Linked DNA regions of Homo sapiens: all the other regions are linked to region 3. The links are contacts of gene promoters, found by promoter capture Hi-C in human tissues and cell types (Jung and others, 2019). All regions are on one chromosome and are shown on one strand. The core of a region is centred on a gene start or on the middle of the fragment in contact, and the rest is flanking DNA. Distances in the headings are between cores, read along the strand shown.

Region 1 (4,414 bases), core at 1,760-4,259, 440 kb before region 3:
AGTACATGCAGTAGAGAGGACTGGACTACAAGGCAGGGGGCGAGGGAGGGAAATATACAGAGATTAGTGACACAAGGGCCCTGCTCAGAGAGTTCACATTTATTAGGGAGACAAATACAAACAACTGAGAATGAAAACATGGAGGGAGGGGAGAGAAAGCTGTGAATAGCTTTAGAAAAAGGATTCTTCTGGATGCAGGAAACAGTGATCAACTTCTATCAGAAACTAGAGAGGTCAGTGGAACTTGATGGATCACTGAATTGCTAAGGGCAGGGTGAAGGAGTGGTATCTCAAGCTTTAGGAACATCTAAAACAGGCAGTGCTTGAGGTGAAGGACAACCATTCACCTTGATGTGATTATTACTTGTTGTATGCCTGTATGAAAATATCTCATGTACCCCATACATATATACACCTATTATGTACCTACAAAAATTAAAATATAAAAAAATTAAAAAACACAAAAATAGAAAAGGCCGAGATCTAAAAGGGAAGCCACGATGAGGTGCCTCTGCAAAGGGCTTGCTGCAGCTGGAGGTAGTGGGAGGGAGCAGAATAAAGCATCCTAAACCATTCATCCAACAAATGTACTGAGGGCTTACAACATTCCAGATACTACAGGCGCAGTGACAGACACAGAGAAATGGATCCTGCCATCAGCAGCTGAGCAGGCTGGAAAGAGAGGCAGGTCCATGACAGTGCCCACAGGCTCTGTACAGTCGAACAGGCACTGGAAGAGAAACTAATGTCATGGAAACACAAGATACCCAGAAAGGCTGCAGAGAAAAGCAGGCCTGTCACTAACTGTGCAAACTGGTGGCAAGATTCCAGTCGTGTTTTTGGCAGAAAAAAGGCAGGACTTAGAGGGAACAGAGTAAAGAATGGAGAAAAAGGGCCAAGAAGCAGTCACTGAAAAGGGCAGGCAGGCTGGAAGGAGGGAGGGGGAAGCAGAACTCCAGAGGCTGGGGGAGCTGGTGGTGCCCACTGCACAGGGAGGAGGGTGAACTCAAAGAAGTGATGTGCATGGGAACATCATGGGGCATTTGTAAGCACTGGTTCAACATGAGCAGCATGCTCACCACGTGCAAAGCACACAGTGACAGAGGAAGTCCCACTGACTCAGATGTCTGAGAGGTTGACATCAGCCAATTAAAAGGTGGCTCAGGAGGCTGAGCAGCCCGGCTTCCCGGTCCCTCAAGCTTCATTCATTTTATTACTTGTCCTAAGCTATTGTTAGATCTGCTCTTTCCCTTATGGTCTCCCACATTTCTTATAAATCTAAAATTTTAGATATAATCACTCCCTGATGTTACTGGAGATAAAACGTTTGGTTAGTCTTTTCAAGGCTTCTATTGAAGCCTAAATTGTAATTAAAACCCCTTTCATAAGTCTGACCATGCTAACTGAACAGGGAATCCAAACCTCTAACTCTCAAAGAAAAAGTTTGGCATCAGTTTCCTGGAGGCCAGTAAGGGCCTTTAAAGTGATTCAGATTGAAAAATGATCTCGACAAGTTTGAATTGTGCAAGGGCAGCCTGCAATCAATAATTAAACAACCTTGTTGGTATTCCAACGCTGGGTACTTAAGCAATACAAAATCATTGCATCTCCATAAGCACCATCTCTGGCAATCAGCTTAGTGCCTGTGATGGAGACCCAAAAAAGTAACAGACCAGGAGGTGAAGAGTTGACCTGAGTTCCCAAGAGTCAGCGACAGACCAGGACATGAATGTGAACTGCAAGAACAACAGATGCCAGCTGCCCCTTAGTTTACAAAGAACACAGGCTCAGAAGCTAGCTGGCGCTGGAGCCAGCAGGCTGCTTAGCAACAAGACCCAAAGTTCGCTTCAACTCCAGCATGTGCTGATGAAGAGTAACATACCTGTTGCACTCAGAACTGTTAGGAAAAAAAGAACTCAACAACCATTTCCTAAACTAAATCTTACATGGCTGGCACTCCGAAGCACAGGATACGCTTTAAAACCAATTCACTAGTCAAAGTGATTCAGCAATTAAATACATTACAGTTTACAGCAAAAACTTCAAGCTACAAAGAAATGTTTATTCAAATGGGAAACAATGTTTACAGGTAGCCTGCCCACCCAGCACGTATGGCCAAATTCCCTTCAGGGAAATAAGGAGAGAACTAGCTTACCATCAGGTAGTTTATCCACAGCCTGTGTGCCACACAGAACTGTTCCACTGTATGGAGGAAGCTGCACAAGGAATCAGAAAACAAATTTTAATTCAACAAAATGTTAAAACCAACGCTTACCATTTAATTAAGGCAACAATTCATTAAAACTCTTAATCCATACAACTTTGCATGCCGTTACTTCTAGCAGAATAACATACATGAAGAGTCAGTGCAATCTAAATCATCTTCATTTAACGAAAAAAACACAATAGAAATGCTTTCAAATATTTATCACTATTAAACAGATCCGAAAATGAAGCCAAAAGGAATAAAAATGAACTCCAATGGACATGTAAATCAGCTACAATGAAATGCTTATGATACATCCTTCTTTCCACAGGATGTCAGTGACTGACCATCCAGACCACAGACACTTTTGTTTGTGCACTAGCGAAGATGACTCTTCCTGACTGCACCTCTTATTCACGATCACTACATTGCAACACAGCCAGTAGAGGCTGGGACCAGGTCCATGGTCGGAGAGCAGAGGAAAGCGCACTATAAACAAAAAGCCTGGTGACTGCAGCTCCCTTTTTAACACAGTGCCTTAATTAACTACATTAACAGCTAGAAGTCACATTCCTTGTTTGGCAGACAGAAAGCAGAATGGGAACTGTCTGACTTCTTTGTAAAAAGCTGAAAGGTTATCTCAAAAATAACTTAAATTTTTCTTCTTCCTAGCTATTCCATAACATTTATTTAAGAGTTGGAAATGCTTCCAATGGACACATTGGGTGTAAGAAAGTTTAGGAAGGGGCAGGGCATGGTGGCTCATGCCTGTAATCCCAGCAATGAGGGAGGCTGAGGTGGGTGAATCACTTGAGGTCAGGAGTTCTAGACCAGTCTGGCCAACATGGTGAAACCCCATCTCTACTAAAAATACAAAAAATCAGCTGGGCGTGGTGGCAGGCACCTGTAATCCCAGCTACTTGGGAGGCTAAGGCAGGAGAATCGTTTGAACCTGGGGGATGGAGGTTGCAGTGAGCCGAGATCGCGCCACTGCACTCCAGCCTGGGCAATAGAGCAAGACTTTGTCTCAAAAACCAAAACAAAACAAAACAAAAAAAAAACAAACCCTGTCTCTACTAAAAAATACAAAAAATTAGCCGGGCATGGTGGTGGGTGCCTGTAGTCCCAGCTACTCAGGAGGCTGAGGCAGGAGAATGGCGTGAACCCGGGAGGCGGAGCTTGCAGTGAGCCGAGATAGTGCCACTGCACTCCAGCCTGGGCAACAGCACAAGACTCTGTCTCAAAAAAAAAAAAAAGGTTTAGGAAGAAAAGGGGTAAGGTAAGCAGAGAGATAAACTGCTACCTGAGGGCAGAACAAAAGAACAAAAAGACATTCTGGTGCAGCACTTCCCAAAGTCTGTTCACTGCAGTACAAAGGCCAGTGCAGGAACGGCCCTAGGGCCGCAAAGTTCAGAGGCTCCTAGGTAAGTCTCATGCCCAATACTGTATGAGAGCTGCTGCTTGATTGGCTTCCTCAGCTGAGTTCTCCAATGAGATCTCAGCACACCAATTCAATAATCACAGCAATAAAAGCTTCTCTCTGCTAGTAACGCAGTAAGTTCTCTTCCCAGAGAATTATGACAAACAGGAAAACACAGGGCAATTCAAAAGAAGCCAACACCTTCAGGAGTTGACAGCTGCACTTATCTCCACCACCAGGGGGCAACCTAGTACGCATCACGTTGACACCCAGAAGAAAGCATTCTGTATGCTGAGATGGGCTACACTAGCCTTGGCACCCGCAAGGCAAAGACCATTCCACACACCAGCATTGATGCTGGCAGGCACCTGGAGCAGAGAGGTGGGTCTATAAGGGCAGTGGACACAGCGGCCATGTGTGTCTCAGGAAGCCTCCATCTCGTTCAAAACCCTCTGTGGTCAAAGAAGACAGTTTAGAAACTGATACATAGAATGCCCTCTTTTTCTGTTAATGACACTAGGATGCCCCCTGGTGACAGAAAGCTGTGTTATTTTGAGGCATGAAAAGTGTTTTGAATCACTCTATTTTTACACAAAATTTATTGTAACATCAAGAAATCATCTTTTTCTGAGTCAAAACAGTTTCATCACTATTATATCAATGTTCTCTTCACACTTCCCAGTATTCTGTTCTGCTCGGGGAAGAGAGAATGCTGAAGGAAACCTCCAGACCCGAGAGACTGCAGCAGGCTGGGAAGACGCACAATTCAGAGAAGGGACCTCTTCACC
Region 2 (4,118 bases), core at 369-2,868, 310 kb before region 3:
ACAGCCGAGGCAGTACGCAGGCCAGGCTGCAATTCTTACCTGGCGTGTGTGCTTCTCGCCCCCACTCCTGACACCCCCTGCACCCCAGCTTGCAATGTAAAATCTTTGTGAAACAAGAAGGGAAGACCACGGGAGGCTCTTCTGTGGAACACCGTGGGGCAGACCTAAGGCCCAGGCCCAGGCCATGGGGGGCCGTGGGAAGTGTTTAGAGGCCACTGTTGTTTAGAGGCCATTTCTGCCATTGTTGTTGACACAGAAAGCCTGTGCGTGTGTCTGGGGAGCAATGCTCCTTAATTCCTGAACCCGAGTGTTCCCTCCTGCCCTGGAGAGACTTTCCCAGGAAATCCCGATTTCCCTACTTTTGCCTGCAGGGCTCGCCTTTGGAGGTCTGCTCTGACCCGGAAGCACTTTTCTCCCCGTTTCTGGCTAGAATTCTACGCTGCTTATAAAATGGAGTGTATTGTTCATGGCTTGCAAATAAAAGCTGCTGCTGCTTCAGGCGGGCCAGGGGTCAGCTGGAGCTGGGGGAGGGGTGAAAAGAACCTGGCTTGAGATGCAAAGAGCCAGGCTCCTGGCGGCCCCTGTGTGACCCCTACAGCCACAGCCCCCTCTGGGCCCCTGCCTAACAGAGGGACAGAGAGAGGGCTGTGTCCACCCTGCAGCTCTCTGGATTTGGCCAAACCTGGCTGCTGTGTGGCCCATTCTTGGGAACACCACACTCTCTTCCTGGGTGACTTTGGTCACTCATCCCCCCAACACATATAAACTGAGCACTCACGGTCTGCTGGGCACTCGTGCTGGGAGAGCTCAGTGGGGTGCATCACCATGCACAACCTTGTGAATGGACCGAAACCCACTGAAATGTCCACTTTCACAGGGTGCAGTTCATGCTGTGTAAATAATATCTTAGGATGAAAAAGCATAAAGAAAAAAGGAGGATGAGGCTCCTGGGTGGGCAGGAGGACAGGAACCTAGTAGGGCCATGGGGTGGGGGCCGTGGGAGGGGAGCGTGGGTGGGGAGTGAGGGTGGAGAGCAGGGGGTGAGGGCTGTGGAGGGTGAGTGTGGGGTGGGGAGCAGGGGGTGGGGACCGTGGCATGAGGGCTATGGCCGGTGAGTGTGGATGGGGAGCGCAGGGGTTGGGGAGTAGGGGGTAGTGTAGGTGGGGGCCATGGGGTGAGGGCTGTGGAGCAGGGAGCATGGGTGGGGAGTGGGAGGGGAGCATGGGTGAGAAGGCGGTTGGGGAGTATGGGGTTGGGCCGTGGTGGGGCAGCGGGAGGGAGAGGGGAGTTGCGGGGGTAGTAGGGAGTGGGGAGCATGGGGTGGGGGCCATCAGGGAGGGAGGTGGGTGGGGAGTGGCGGGTAGAAAGTGGGGGGAGGTGGGTAGCTGGCAGGGCCCAGGGTGCAGTGGCCCCGGGAGCCATGTGAGGCCTCTGGGTTTTCCTGGAGCAGTGCGCATTTTATTCTGATCACTTTTGTTTCATGTCCTCCTAGAACTTTGCCTTGGCCCTTTCTGTGGCTCATTCCCAGCTGGGCAGGGTCTTATTCTGCCACTTCTTCTGGGTCCCCAGGCATGATGCGCCAACCCCACAGGCCCTGAGCAGCCCTTTTCCCTGAGCACAGCCCTGCCTCTCCCCTCTGAACTCCCGGCTCCCCCACTGCCTCCATTCGCTTCATAGTCTGTTGCCATTGTCACCGTTGGTCCCAAGGCCGCCTTGTCCTTATCATCCTCACCTAGCGCTTCCCAACACTTCCTGTGTGCCAGGCCCGATTCCCAGGGCATCACCCCCTCAGCTGGCTGATGAGGATCAACGTGCTGTGTCACCGATGAGGAGACCTCCAGGGGGAGGCTTGCTGGTCCCCTGGGCTCTCAGTGGGTCCCCCTGTGTTTACGGCAGAGCTGTGACGCCGTGTTGTACCCACGGCCGGGTTTCCAGTGTGTTCACTCAGAGCCTGGCGCAGAGCCCTGGCTGAGTCACACTTCGTTGCCTCAGTCCTTTGGGAAGAGGGGAGGTTCTGCCTCGGATGTTGCATGGGGTAATGAATAAGTGAATCCGTAGAAGAGTAAAGTGAGTCAGCTGTCCCCGTGGGGGCTGGTGTGCGCAGGCTTGCGGGCTGGAGTGTTGTTAAAGTCCACGGGGAAGGAAAACTGGCTGCGAGTCTGCCCCCACCAACCAGGGGCTCCCAGGCAGAGATGGAGAGGCCTCCGGGGAACTGGGGGGCAGAGAGGGGAAGTCGCTGGGCCATTGTTACATGGGAGGAAAGGGGCAGAGCCAGGACCTGAACCCTGGTCTCCAGGCTCTCATGCCGCTGAGGTTTCAAGCCAGCTGCGTCCCTCTGGGCTACCGTTCTTGGTGCATGTGAAAGGTGGAGAAGCAGCTTCCTTGTTACGCAGGCATCACTGACTCTGGCATCGCTGACTCCAGCAACACTGCCTTTTTGGCCTTCCCTTTCCATGCACTTTTTTTTTTTTTTGAGATGAAGTCTCTGTCGCCCAGGCTGGAGTGCAGTGGCATGATCTCAGCTTACTGCAACCTCTGCCTCCTGGACTCAAGCAATTCTCCTACGTCAGCCTCCCGAGTAGCTGGGATTACAGGTGTGCACCACCATGAATGGCTAATTTTTGTATTTTTAGTAGAGACAGGGTTTTGCCGGGTTGGCCAGGCTGGTCTCGAATTCCTGAGCTCAAGTGATCTGCTCGCCTTGGCCTCCCAAAGTGCTGGGATTACAGGCATGAGCCACTGCGTCTGGCCACATGTGCTTTTATTAAACCACAAATTTGTCAAAACAAATCAGTTGTTATGTCTGTCCATATCCATTCGTTCCTGCCTGTCTATTCATTCCTGCTCTCTGGGGGTGGAAGTCACACTTTAAAAATCCTGACAAAGAATTGGTTTTATTCTTTTTTTTTTTTAATTAAAAGAAAAAAAGTTTTTTGAGACAGAGTCTCACTGTGGCCCAGGCTGGAGTGCAGTGGTGCGATCATAGTTCACTGCAGCCTCAACCTCCTGGGCTCAAGCAATCCTCCTGCCTCGGCCTCCCAAAGTGTTGGGATTACAGGTGTGAGCTGCTGTGCCCATCTGCTTGGTTTTACTCTTATAAAATGGCACCCCCCCCACCCCCATTGAACTGAAACGCAGCTGCAAATTTGGAACTGAAAAGCCTCTGAGAAGTCAAAGATGCCATGTAGATGCCCTTCATTTATTCGGGAAGTATGTATTGAGTACATGTGGGGCATCGTCTGGGTGCTTTGGATGTGCTAGGGAACGAGATTCCTTCCCTCCTGGAGTAGGGCTGAGCAAGCTGAAGGAGGCCTGTAGCTCATTCTGAGCCTTTAAGCTCTTAGTTTGCACACAGTTATCATCAGCTGCATCATATGCCCTTCTGGCTTGTGGTGAGTCGGAAAAAGAGAGAAGGGCTGGTGGAGGAAGGCGTTTTGAACTTGCCAGCAGAGGCTGTTGCTTTGTCTGGAGTTCTGTCACAATCTCCCTCTCAAATTGTCAACAAGAACCCTCTTTGTCCTTACCCTGTTCTCTGGAGGAACTCTGAGTCATCCTTCAAGACCCTGATCAGGATGGGTGCGGTGGCTTATGCCTGTAGTCCCAGCACTTTGGGAGGCCAGGATGGGGGGATCACGAGGTCAAGAGTTCGAGACCAGCCTGGCCAACATGGTGAAACCTGGTCTATATTAAAATACAAAAATTAGCTGGGTGTGGTGGAGCGTGCCAGTAATCCCAGCTACTCGGGAGGCTGAGGCAGGAGAACTGCTTGAACCCGGGAGGCGGAGGTTGCATGAGCCGAGATTGTGCCCCTGCACTCCAGCCTGGGTGACAGAGCAAGACTCCGTCTCGGGGGGATAAAAGAAAAAGACCCTAATCAAACATCACCTCCTCTGCAAAGCCAGTCCTGGTCACAGCTGCCCAGGCAGAGCGGATTTCCTTCTTTCCTTGATGCTCCTGTAACTGCCAGTCACAACTCTTTGCCATAGCAGTAATTTCATGGTATTCACACACTACATTTTTGTTTGCTATGGTAGACTGTATATTTTTTGAAGGTAGGGATTGCATTTTCAGCAAAATCCCTGTATCACAGATTGTCAGTAAGTGTTTGTCAAATAACC
Region 3 (4,340 bases), core at 1,356-3,855:
GCCACACCCAGCTAATTTTGTATTTTTAGTAGAGATGGGGTTTCACCATGTTGGTCAGGCTGGTCTTGAACTCCTGACCTCAGGTGATCCACCCGCCTCGGCCTCCCAAAGTGCTGGGATTACAGGCATGAGCCACCGTGCCTGGCTGGCACAGTTGTTCTGCATAAACCTCACCTATGTCTAGGCGCTGAGGAAGGAGGCCAATATCTGTTGATAACCAGGGAAAGTTTCAATTCAGCGAGGAGCCAATTCAAAGCACTTGCATCCTGACCAGTGGTGGCTACAAGTGAATCAGCTCCTGCAGCCCACCCAGGCCTGTGTTTTAGAGACTCCCCCAAATCCCCCGCGCATATCAACCCTGACCCTCCTATGTGGATGTCACAGTGCTGGCTCCTATGACATCTTGGGACATGGTGGAGATAAAATCAGATGACATATTGGCAATCTCTCTATGGTTGTAGAACCAAAGTGCTACTAACTACAGTTGAGGGTTAAATCATCCTGTTGCACCAGAGAAGAGCATGGAGGAGTCAATAAAATCTGAGAAGAGTCTCTCACCCCTCCTCAATGCCTCCCCTCTGGCCAGGTCTGGTCTCCCAAGCAGCTCTTAGATGCACCACTTCTGCCTGTGAGCCTCGGCTCATGCTGAGCCTTCTTCCAGGAATTTCCTTCCTCCTCCTAATTCCTAATCCTTCCCCAAGATCCAGTCAAGGTCTCCACCTCCTCCAGGAAGCCTTAGGTGACTACACCATCTCACATGAGCTTTCCCTTCTCCAAGCGCCTCATCATGTCACTCTACTACTCTTTCCACTTCTCGAAGTCCTCCTGTCTCCCGCCACGAGCATGTGCCGAACATGGAGAATATGAGCCCTGGAGGCCCAGATTTGTCTCAATACAGTTTCAGGCACCCCACTATGCCTGGGGTCATTAATCATTCTCCCTTCCCTCTTCTCCAGCTGGCAAACTCCTATTTATCCTTTAAAGCCACAGGTCCACTGTCCCCAACCCTAAAAACCCTGTCTGACTCTCCTGGGGAAGAGCTGCACACGCATCCCGTGCTACCACTGCAGCCGCTCATAATTCACCCACAAGAATGTACCAGGCGTCAACTTAATGGCAGGCACCAGGGGCACACATTAGTGAAACAGAACCCTGCCCTACCCCAAGGAACCTACATGCTACCCTGTTAGGCAACACCAAACAAAGTCACAATTATTTGATTGAAAGCTGCCAAGATGCACTGCCAGCTTGCTATGTTGCAAAGACGTTCTACATACTGAGACATTCAATCCTCACACAGGTGCTGTGGGTGCCAGCATTACCTTCTTGAGCCCTCTGTGTGCTGATATCGTCCTGGCTCACTCCGTCCCTGCGGATCTGTGATCTCTGGGGGGTGGGAGGAACCAAAAATGATAGCCTCCTCCACCCCATTCTCTCTCCTAGTTCCCTTCCTGCTTTATTGCTTCCTCAGCACTTGCAATCTGCACATACTAATAAATGAGATCTCTCTCATTTATTCTTTGCTGCCCCCAGCCCCCCATTGAGTTCCCCAGGCAGAGATGTGAGGCCTGTATCCCCACAGCCTAGGACAGTACCTGGTAAACAGTGGCGACCCAGACATAGTTGTGTGAAGAAATGCATCCCTCTGTCTTTTGCAGATGAGATTGCTGGGGTTCAGAGACGTCAAGCAGCTTGCCTGAGAGAAGCCACGCAGCTAATGAGCAGCAGAGCCCGATTCACACCCAGACATCTGGCCCCAGGGCATGTGTTTCTTGCCACTCACTGCCTCATGCCTTCTCTTTGTACTGCCATCGTTTGTCACCCAACTGCCTCTGCACCTCGGCCACGCCACCCTTGAGGATGGGGGCTGGTACCTCCTTTATCTTGTATCCACAGGACCCCACAGAGTGCCTTCCCCAGAGCGGTTTCTGCTAAATTCTGTTTAACAGAGTGTATTCATTCTGTTTGCTGAATGAATAAACAACCACATGAATGCATAAGTGTATTTCACAAACATTTGGTACTGATCAGGGAGACGGAATGCTCCGTTTAAATCCTGGGGTTCCGAAATGAGATGCTGTCTTTCAGGAGCAAGCATACTTTTGTAACAAGGCAAAAGTAAGGCACGATTCTTTGGCACATTTGTGATGTGTCTTTTGCCTCTTGATTCACAGATAAGGGTCCTTTTTTGGGGGTGAGCCCCATCTGCCCACCACACAACTCAGACACACACGGATAGGAAGACGCCTGCCTTGCCACGTTTTGGGGGAGCACTTACAGGAGAAGGCAGTGTCTAGGGATCGCCTCTCCTCAAGGCTGACTCCCACCCACACAGGCTGCCCCAGCCTCCCCATCCCAGGCACTTACACGGGATTTCTCGGCCAGCCTCGCAGGCAATGCCCGTTTCCAGATATTCTTGGCAGAGCCGGCGTGGAGGAGAAGTAGCAAGAGGCACAGAGCCCGGATGATCTGCCTCCTGCAGCTGCCCGGCCCCACGCCGGTTAAAGGCATTTCCTCCCTGGGCAGCGACCTTCCAGACGCACACAGAAGAGGGGCCCCCCTCGCTGCGTGGGCCTGTGAGTGGGGACAGGAGCGTGCACAGTCTGCTGGACTTTCTTAGTTCCACCCAGCAGGGTCCCTCGGATCATGTGTCCGCGTCCAGCACATGCCCCTTCCTCGATGGTGGCTGGCCTGCCCGGTTATTTTTAGCTTGCCCTATAACATCTGGCCCCAGACGCTCCAACCAGGGCGTCTGCAGCCCAGGCAGCTCAGTGGGCGGTGGCAGCAGGAGGAGGGGGCACCGGCTTGCTTGGAGACGTGGCCGGGAGTGGCCTGTCACTCTCCACTCTCCATAATGAGCACTTCCTTGCAGGCTGGGGCGGTCTCCTCCCAAGGAGGTGTGCTTGACACAGGGCTCGGGGCTGGACATGCAGGGGAGTGCAGCCGGATGGGTGGGGGCTCGGCTGCTACCTTGTTCACATTTCGAGCTGGGCTGACAAACTATCTGCCTATAAAAGCTTCTTTGAAAGAGGCTGCTGGACTGGCACTGGCCAAGGGTGCAGCCATGAAGAGACGACTTCCACCCTTGCACCCGCCGGGGTCCTCCTGCCTGATGTGGGCATGTGGGTAGTTCCTCATAGCGTGTGTTTCCTGTGAGATTTAAAAGAAATTGAGCACATAAAGCATTTCACACACATAAGTGTGCTGTCACTGTCAGCCGGTGTATCTGCACATGTGCATTTATGTGTATGCGTGTGTGCACGTGGGTGTGCATGTGCACGTGTGTGTTTTACAGGAATGTAGCACAGCGGGCTCAACATTTCACAAACTTCATATTCCCTTGTCTGTTCTCAGCACTTCCAAGACAGATACTGGTTTTTTGTTTTGTTTTGTTTTTCGAGACGGGTCTTGCTCTGTCACCCACGCTGGAGTGCAGTGGTGTGATCACAGATCACTACAACCTCTGCCTCCCGGGTTCAAGCGATTCTCCTGTCTCGGCCTTCCAAGTAGCTGGGATAACAGGCATGTGCCACCATGCCTGGCTAATTTTTGTATTTTTAGTGGAGACTGGGTTTCACCATGCTGGCCAGGCTGGTCTCAAACTCCTGACCTTAAGTGATCTGCCCGCCTCAGCCTCCCAAAGTGCTGGTATTACAGGTGTGTGAGCCACCACACCCGGCCCCAAAACAGACACTGTTTTGATGCCCGCTTTACAGATGAGGAAACAGAGGGGGCTGCCTGAGGTCATGCAACAGCAGCAGAGAGGAGGCTGGAACCCAGGTAGGTCAGACCCTGTGGCACCCCCCTAGGCGAAGCAGAAGGGACCCAAGCACTAGGCTTGACGCACCTGCCTGATCCCAGTTCAGCCTCTGCGAGATGCTGGAAAGCCTCTTGCTCATGGTCCTCAGTTCTCTCATCTGTGAAATGGGCATGTGAAAGTCTCTGCCTCTTGAGATCGATGTGGGGCTACAGGAGAGGGTGCCAGCTGTGCCCAGCACTTGCACAGAGTGAGTGCTCCAGAAAGATTGGTTCCTCCCTCCCTGGGGACCCTCACCCCCCACCTCCTGGCCAGCACAGCCTTCAGAATGCCCTGGGCAGGTATCATCAACCCCTCTTGGCCTTTTAGTGAATGACAATAGTGGCAAACACATATAGTCTGTGTAGGTCGGGTACGGTGGCTCACACTTGTAATCCTAGCACTTAGGGAGGCAGAGGATGCCTTGAGCCCAGGAGTTCAAGACCAGTCTGGGCAACATAGTGAGACCTCATCTCTACAAAAAATACAAAATAAAAAAAGTAGCCCGGCGTGCTGATGCACACCTGTAGTCCCAGCTAATTGG

What was found. The method cuts DNA at HindIII sites, captures the fragments that hold promoters and counts their contacts. A contact is called where the count stands out against the background at its distance.
Region 1: a fragment that was not itself captured here is called in contact with the fragment with the promoter of WFDC1 in region 3 in 2 of the 25 tissues and cell types used here (hippocampus and spleen).
Region 2: a contact is called between a fragment that was not itself captured here and the fragment with the promoter of WFDC1 in region 3, in 1 of the 25 tissues and cell types used here (bladder).

Annotation. Positions count from the first base shown.
Region 1 is chr16:84,738,111-84,742,524 of GRCh38, reverse strand. It overlaps USP10 (ubiquitin specific peptidase 10), which reads right to left. Exons shown (of 14, transcript NM_005153.3): 3 at 2,156-2,216. Among named protein-coding and RNA genes, the nearest start is that of USP10, 40 kb to the right of the region's middle. RefSeq lists a silencer at 2,528-2,822 and an enhancer at 3,784-3,833. The HindIII fragment of the contact is 4,524 bases long and covers 748-4,414 here.
Region 2 is chr16:84,601,206-84,605,323 of GRCh38, reverse strand. All of the region lies in intron 2 of COTL1 (coactosin like F-actin binding protein 1), which reads left to right. Among named protein-coding and RNA genes, the nearest start is that of COTL1, 15 kb to the left of the region's middle. RefSeq lists enhancers at 1,646-1,855, 1,321-1,885, 1,896-2,015 and a silencer at 1,907-2,201. The HindIII fragment of the contact is 8,893 bases long and covers 1-4,118 here.
Region 3 is chr16:84,293,143-84,297,482 of GRCh38, reverse strand. WFDC1 (WAP four-disulfide core domain 1) reads right to left here and starts at 2,605. Exons shown (of 7, transcript NM_021197.4): 1 at 2,368-2,605. The coding sequence starts at 2,511. LOC124903734 reads right to left here. Exons shown (of 6, transcript XM_047435022.1): 5 at 3,848-3,966; 6 at 2,645-3,150. The coding sequence ends at 2,645. The HindIII fragment of the contact is 18,601 bases long and covers 1-4,340 here.